2 separate regions of the Homo sapiens genome follow, and region 1 is linked to region 2. Evidence: promoter capture Hi-C in human tissues and cell types (Jung and others, 2019). All regions are on one chromosome and are shown on one strand. Each heading gives the region's core, a stretch centred on a gene start or on the middle of the fragment in contact. The rest is flanking DNA. Distances are from core to core; before and after follow the strand shown.

Evidence for each region. Contacts are between HindIII fragments. The study calls those that stand out against the background at their distance.
Region 1: a fragment that was not itself captured here is called in contact with the fragment with the promoter of CMPK2 in region 2 in 1 of the 25 tissues and cell types used here (lymphoblastoid cells).

What each region holds. Positions count from the first base shown.
Region 1 is chr2:6,340,904-6,344,677 of GRCh38, reverse strand. No RefSeq gene overlaps it. Among named protein-coding and RNA genes, the nearest start is that of LINC01247, 33 kb to the left of the region's middle. The HindIII fragment of the contact is 7,670 bases long and covers 1-3,774 here.
Region 2 is chr2:6,864,346-6,868,548 of GRCh38, reverse strand. It overlaps CMPK2 (cytidine/uridine monophosphate kinase 2), which reads left to right and starts at 2,642. Exons shown (of 5, transcript NM_207315.4): 1 at 2,642-3,527. The coding sequence starts at 2,853. It also overlaps a transcript of RSAD2 not described here. RefSeq lists silencers at 2,382-2,651, 2,892-3,331 and an enhancer at 2,652-2,871. The HindIII fragment of the contact is 2,409 bases long and covers 738-3,146 here.

The DNA.
Region 1 (3,774 bases), core at 575-3,074, 520 kb after region 2:
TCATATTTCTAAGCTATATGCATAATAGTACAGCCTGAATGTCTTGAGCTCAAAAGAAGACCTTTAGAAAACAATGCACCTAGATTTTCAAGGAAAATCTATGCTACGTTTGTGGCAGAAGCCACTTGAATTGGCTGATACAAGTTTCTTTCTTGGCTACTGGATCTCATTAGAACCAGCTTCTCCAGATTGGAATGACCTCCTTAAGGGCCCTGAGTATCATCTTCTGTGTCTAGTTAAATTGAGGAGGAGGCACAACCTACTACGTAGCCTTTGCAATCAGGAACAATCAGTCCCCCTTGAGCATTCCTCAGAACAGGAACTGTTCAAATCTGCCCTTTCTCTGAGCTTGTGGGTCCAGACAGTGCAGGAATAGCTGGACAGGTTGGAAGAAGAGAAGGCCAGGAAAATTTCCAGAAAAGTCCCTGAGGCATTCATTGGAGCCGAGAGTCAAGCTCAAGCAGCAAGGTACAAAATACTAACATCAAGTCCAAAGGGTAAAAGACTGAGTTAGGATGGGCTAATGGAATAAGAAGTTTTGGGTAAGTGGAAACAAAGTTGAAATAACAATAGCCCCAAAGCAAATCAGAAGGTTCACGTTTATTACCCCAAACAGTGCTGGGCCAACTGTAGCTTGCCTTATCAGCTACTCCACGTTGGATGAAGATAGCTTTGATCTTCTGGCTTAAAGGATCAGAGGCAGTGTGAGTAGAAACTCAACCGTTTCCCAAAGGGTGGAAAAGCAAATGATATGGCTGGCAAAACACGACTCTCAATGCTTTGGCTTAGATGTGATACATGCCACATTCATTTACATGCCATTGGCCAAAGCAAGTCACACAAACAAGCTTGATGTCATCTGGGTGAGGATACATACTTCTCCAATGGGAGACACTACAAATCCCGTGCATGGTGCAACTGTATATAATTCTTTTACAAGAAAGCAGAGTGAATATGAAGAAGCAATAGTTCAATCTACTACATCTTTTGAAAATAACTTTCCCTTTAGAAAGACCGTCATTTCTCTTGCATGCTTGCTGTTTCCTTCCATTTGTTTTTCAAAACACTAATCTTGGTTAGATTCACATATAGTCTTCATGCCTTTATCTGTGAAGGTGAACACCAGTATAGAATGTTTAGAAAAAGACAAAAGAGTATAATATCATCTTCATACATTCATAATTAAGAATTTCAATTCTCACTCAAAAATTCTAAGAAATCCTACCGGTTTTCCTCTACTAAGCTCATTATCCCACTCTCTGCACTAACTATTTTAGACCTTTGTTTTTCTATTCAAGCTCATCACCCATAATTCCCCTCTGCACCACTCCCCTCACATGCTGCCCACAGATGGCATTGCCTCTCATTTCGTTAGAAAAACAAAAGCCATCAGGTGCCCCCTCACCTCCCCAGCACCGACTCTGTGCACCTGTCTGAGCCTGGACTCATCTTCTTCTTTTCTGTTCTCTTTCTGTAAGAGTTGCTAAATCGTGATGACTGAAGGATGTATAATTGGTACTAAGTTTCAGAAATAAGCCTCCTTAGAGGCTCTGGTAGTTAAAAGAGGATTCCGGTGATTCCCAAAGTTTGCAATAGTCCATTTCTCTAATCTGTCCATGTTTTAGGCGTCCAAAATCAGCAGTTTGCAAAATGCCAACTGTTGACTACGTCAGAATCATGGGATTTCTACCCATGATTCCTACCCCTGTATTTCCAGGATGGGACCTGGAAATACGTATTTTACTGTCTGTCCAAGTGATTCTAATGCATTGCTCAGTATAAAGGTACCTATTACAGAACCTAAGGTGCCTTTAAAGTTTTAGATCTGTGGTTCTATAACTTTGCCTCATAATAAAATTACCTGGGGAGCTTTTAGGGCGCCTGAGGCCCAAGTTACACTCTGGACCAATTAAATTTTAATCTCAGCGGTTAGGGCTAAGAAGTTGCCATTTTTAGACCTTCACAGGTGTTTATGATGTGCAGCAAGCCTAAGAACAACTTCTCACTTTCAGCGAAGTGTGCAAGGCTAAGGGTGCCTTCTGGCTGCACTCAGAGGGGCTTGGATGGGGAGTGCAATATCACAGCTCCACATTGAGGAAGCATCCCCAGGGATGGTTTTGCAACAGAAAATATTGTTCATGCCACTCAAACTGGGAAAAGACCACCTTGTACCAAATGGAAATAATTAATCTATGAAGAAAAATACTGCTGAGGCAGCATAAAATGCTGTAAAGTGTGCCAGACTCAAGGTCAAAAGAGCTGTGTCTGTTGTTTGTTACCTGGGACAATCTTGGGCAAGGAATTTGATTATTCTGAACTGGAGTTTTCTTACCAGTAAGGCGGATGCTACAGTACCAGCCTTGTTGTATGGTTGCTATTTTATTTCATTAAGAGAGCTGACAACTGACATATTCAAATGGTCAGAGTGCTTTTCATTGGAATTTGGGGAGCAATTTGGAATTCCTTATTTGAATCTGGAGTTAAATCTTTATTAATACATGTAGTTTTCTTATTTGTTTTTATATTATTAAACTCTTTTCTAACCTTTTAGAGAGCCAGTCTAGCTCTTTTGTCTTAGAATAATTTTACATCCCATTTTCTTAATTGGCCTAGAGATTCTGTAGTATTGGTGCTTGTTTTCTCTATTGCTGCTGAATACCAGGAAAGAGCCAAAGAGTACCTTTGTTGCCCAGATATCTGATAAAGTCCAGATGCATCTGGAAACCATTTGGAATTCACGGGCAAATGAAGTAGGTCATAAAATATGAAGAACTCAAGAGAAAAAATAAACTACCAAGGTTGAATTATAAGGTAAGGTCTTAGCTCTTATCTTTCTTAATAATGCCTCCTCTGCTTGCCATGGCAACCACATGTGCTGGCAGTTGTTATGGCAAAGGGAGAGGACTGCAAATAGAAGAGAACTGTAGGATTCTGCAATGGAAGAAGGTATTTCTGAGACTAGTAAAAACACAGACCAACATGTATTGTTATGATCTAAGCCTCATGTGTATGAATAAGGGGGTATCACAATGAACTAAGATTTCGTGAGGCACGTTCATCTTCATTTTTTTTTATTTGTTGCAAAATGAGGTCTCATTGGTGAGTCCTCATACTGATGCCTATAAAGCACTTGTCACGGTACTTAGTTCATAGAAGGTACTCTCTATCTGTTAGCTGAATATAAATAACCTGGATGAACAGTATGTGTGTATAAGGCTGTTGGCATATGGATTTTCTGTAGAAAAATTTTACTTAAAAAGTAAGCAAGAATCGAAAGTTTGATTAATAGACAATTGGAACAACTAAAATGAAACCCTTTTTCAAGGACACCTACCAAGTGAACTGATGCATTTTGAAGGGCATCTGATGAGTGGCCATGCCATGGCAGCACATTTTCTGTTTGCCTGTGCTGTATGGATTCATATATGATTACAAAACCCAGAGTGACCCATTAGTACAAAGTAGGCATAAATTTATGTATTTATTTTTTCAAATTAGCGAAGTGTTGAAATTTCAGGATCCAAAGAAACCAAGAGACCTGTTAAAGGGGTTATTTCTTTGACCGTTTATCTTTTGCTTGAAACAATGTAGAGGTGCATTGACCTTTTCTCACCTCCATGTCAGCTTTCACATTTGTGTGTTTCCAGTCTTCTTTGAGCTAGTGAAGTGAATTCTCACAAAACCTAAATATTCTAGATTCTCTGCTTCCTTAATCAGTGGGTAGAATAGTGGGCCTGGGATTTTCCCCAGCATGGCGTGGTTTTCGTGAAGGGG
Region 2 (4,203 bases), core at 1,393-3,892:
AGGATTTGGGTTACAGAGTTATAGACTCAACATTCTATCCTGGGCTCATTTTATTAATTCTTATTTTCTGAGCTCATCATTTATTTTATAATATTCACTTTTATGAATGTGGAATTGTTTGTAATATTCTCTTTTGGGTATCCTTTTGAACTTGTGGTTCTATCATCTCATTTATTCCTATTCTGATTTGCATTTTCTTTCTTTTTCCAATTGAATTAAACTACCTAGAAACATATCTGTTTAAACATGTTTTCAAAAACTAAGCTCTTTTTCAAAGTGTTATTTTTTCATTTTATTATTTATTAATTGCTATTTATATTTTTAATTCTCCCATTCTGTTTCTTTTTTTCTTAGGAGCAGAATGGCTAGAAAAGTTTCATTTTCTCTTGTTTAATACTGTAAGTGTTGAAGATTATGGCTTTTCCTATGATATAGCTGTGCTGTTCATTCATTTAAAGACACCTCTTTGAAGTATCTTCCCAGCCTGCAGCTTCTCTCCTTTCCACCTGCAACGATGGGTGGCTACAGGCATGTTTAGTCAATATAAACATCCAGCTGTGGCTCTCAGAGTCTCTGTCCTACAAATTTGAAGGGGCTTGAAAATCTAACAGAAATTTTTATTTATGAATGAAGATATATCTTCAACATCTTCAACACTTATATAATATTGACTAAGCCCAAATACTGCAGTGTTATTAACTTTACATCTCTTCGTAGGGCGAAGGTAGGTGAAAAATAGAGAGGAAAACTTAAATTAAAAAAGGTAAGATGCTTCATTTAGCAAACTGTGTGTCAGGTTTTCTTTCAGTTGGAGGCTCAGAGAAAAGTTAGGAAGAAGCTGGTCTTCCTACTTACCCTCAAGGTGCTCAGTGGTGGGAAATAGACTGGCACGTGACTGTGGAGTGTCAAGGTCCGAGGATACAAATAGCCTTGGTGGGGGACACAGGAGAGGCTACTAACCCAGATATGTGGGGGGTTATAGGCTATATCATGTCCCCCAAAATTCATGCTCAGGCCTAGCCCCCAGTGCCTCACAGTATGACTGTATTTCAAAATAAGGCTTTCAATAGGTGATTACATTAAAATGAGAACATTATGATGGGCCCTAACCCAATCTGACTGGTGTCCTTCCCAGAAGAGGAAATTTGGAACTTCAAGGAGACGCCAAGGATGCAAGCACAAAGGAAAGGTCCCGTGAGAACACAGAGAGAAGGAGGCGGTCTGCACGCTAGAAAGAGAGGCCTCAGAAAAAGCAAACCCTGCTGGCAACTTGATCTCCAGCTTCTCTGGCCACCTGAACTTTGAGAAAACAAATTTTCTATTGTTTAGGCGGCCCAGTCCGTGGTATTTTGTTATGGCAGCCAGGATAGACTAATACATCCAGAGAGGTGGATGGCATAGGGAAAAGGTCAAGCAGGCTTGAGGATGCAGTACTGTCTTAGAGAAGAAAAGGGAGTAACTAGAAGACTCTTACTTCCATATACTACATACACGTGAAACCACCGGTACATGCTAAATGTCCAAAAGTGAAATTCCTGAGAAAGAATAAAAACTATTCTATTCTCAAAGAGCTAAAAAATTTTAAACTCCTAATTCTTCTTTCTTCTTAGCCTATTAACCCACACTCCAACCACCTATCTATATTTCACGTTTGTTAAGACTTTTTTTTTCAGAATTAAATATAATCCCAAGTTTAAGTCCAATACTATTAAGACATAAAAAAAAAACTGCTTTCAGCTCATCTAATGTTTTCAATCTTCGTCTCAATTCTATTTTTTTGAGAGAGTTTCCCTGGAGAATATTATCTTTTTGTTTGTTTTTGGTTTGCTTGACATCATTTTTAAAAGGCATCAGTTAATGAGTAAACACAGAATAAAATATCCAAATAACTGCGCAAACACTGTTACACTGTTAGGCAGTTACACTGTTAGGCAGCAACAGTGCTGATGCTGGACTGTGGCAGGCAGAGGGTGCTATCCTGACACACTTCACCTTAGTGCAGGAAACTTCAATTTGGTGGAAGAAAGGCGATTTCGAGGTGCCAATCTGGGCGACACTTCCCAGTTGGAGAGTCAGCAAAAGGGAGAGGGCAATTCCAAGAAGAGGGAAAAGCTTGTGCACAGGTGAGTGTGTGCAAAGGTGAGTGTGTGCACAGGTGAGTGAGTGCACAGGTGAGATAAGATACAGGAGAGGGAAGAGCCAGAACTGCGCCCTGTTCCCGCAGGAAAGCAGCTCTGCAGGATTAGAGGGGCGGGGACGCGTGGTCAGAGCTAGGAGTTGAGGTCGGGGAGGGAGCCCATGGTCTGCAGGGCCTGGTCAGTCATCCAAGGGCAGTAGTGCGCCTGCAAGTGGGCGTTGAAGAGCCCGTTACACCGGGAAGGGACTTCTCTGTCCCTCGCGCGTGCACCCCCGCCCCCCTCCATGCACCCGGCATAAGCCGCAGAGGAGGAACTCAAACCAGGGTCGGGGCCGCCAGCCACCCGCAGAACGCACACGGAGCTACCTTGGGGCCGACGGCGCGGGGCCTCATTCGGTGTCAGCCCCGGGAGCCGGCGCCTGGGGACCGCGCAGGCCCGCGGAGCCGCGCACCTGGGGCCCCGGGGCCAAGCGTCTGCTCCCGAGCGCCGGCCGTTTATCGCGCACATCTCGCGGCGAGGAGGAGAGGCCGGAAGGGCGCCCCAGCCCCAGGGCTCCTGCCCCGCCTGGGCCTCCGGCTTTCGTTTCCCCGCAACGCTTCGCTTTCGTTTCCCGCTGGCGCCTGGCTCCCTCCGGGTTTCGTTTCCCGCCGGCGCCTGGCTCCCGCCAGGTTTCGTTTCCGAGGCGGGGCCGAGGGCGGCGTCGCTGAGGCGCCCATGGCCTTCGCCCGCCGGCTCCTGCGCGGGCCACTGTCGGGGCCGCTGCTCGGGCGGCGCGGGGTCTGCGCTGGGGCCATGGCTCCGCCGCGCCGCTTCGTCCTGGAGCTTCCCGACTGCACCCTGGCTCACTTCGCCCTAGGCGCCGACGCCCCCGGCGACGCAGACGCCCCCGACCCCCGCCTGGCGGCGCTGCTGGGGCCCCCGGAGCGCAGCTACTCGCTGTGCGTGCCCGTGACCCCGGACGCCGGCTGCGGGGCCCGGGTCCGGGCGGCGCGGCTGCACCAGCGCCTGCTGCACCAGCTGCGCCGCGGCCCCTTCCAGCGGTGCCAGCTGCTCAGGCTGCTCTGCTACTGCCCGGGCGGCCAGGCCGGCGGCGCACAGCAAGGCTTCCTGCTGCGCGACCCCCTGGATGACCCTGACACCCGGCAAGCGCTGCTCGAGCTGCTGGGCGCCTGTCAGGAGGCACCACGCCCGCACTTGGGCGAGTTCGAGGCCGACCCGCGCGGCCAGCTGTGGCAGCGCCTCTGGGAGGTGCAAGACGGCAGGCGGCTGCAGGTGGGCTGCGCACAGGTCGTGCCCGTCCCGGAGCCCCCGCTGCACCCGGTGGTGCCAGACTTGCCCAGTTCCGTGGTCTTCCCGGACCGGGAAGCCGCCCGGGCCGTTTTGGAGGAGGTAAGAGTTCTGTCCGCTTCCAGCTCCCAGCGTGGCATCTGAACCCTTCAGACCAGAGAACTGGACCAAGAGGCTGGTCTGTAGAGCCGGTTCTTGCCTGGGTGGTTTGTTTATTTCCGTTCACAAATCAGGTAGGGAAGGTGTCCTGTATGCCAGGCAACTCTTTTAAGATTCTTGTTTGCAAGGATCTTCCAACCTGACGTGGAACATAGACCTACACCAAGCCACGCGATGCTTGCTGTAAAAGCATCCCAACAGCAGTACAGAGGGAGTAAAGGGGCTGCCGGGAGTGAGGGAAAATAATGTCAGCTGGGAAGTAATTTTATTTGCTGATGATCACCATTCAAGGATCTTGGGGTGAAAAAGAAAATGCATGAGTTTAGGGGGTTTAAGAAATTTAGACTTAAATAGTGTTTACCTACCGACTGGCCATGAACCTTGTGCAGGTTACTCAACTACTCTAAGTTTTGCCCTTTGACATGTACAATTCCCATCTTGCGATGTTGTCCTGATTAAGGAAACATCTGACTCACAGCAGGTACCCACAGAAAGAGACTGAAAATTCTTTCTGATCGCAGGCTAGGCAGATGTCCTCCTGTGACACAGATGAGCCCTGAGGATGCCCCCATGGATCTTGGGAATATTTTCCAAGCTTACGGGACAGCGTTGTGGAGCA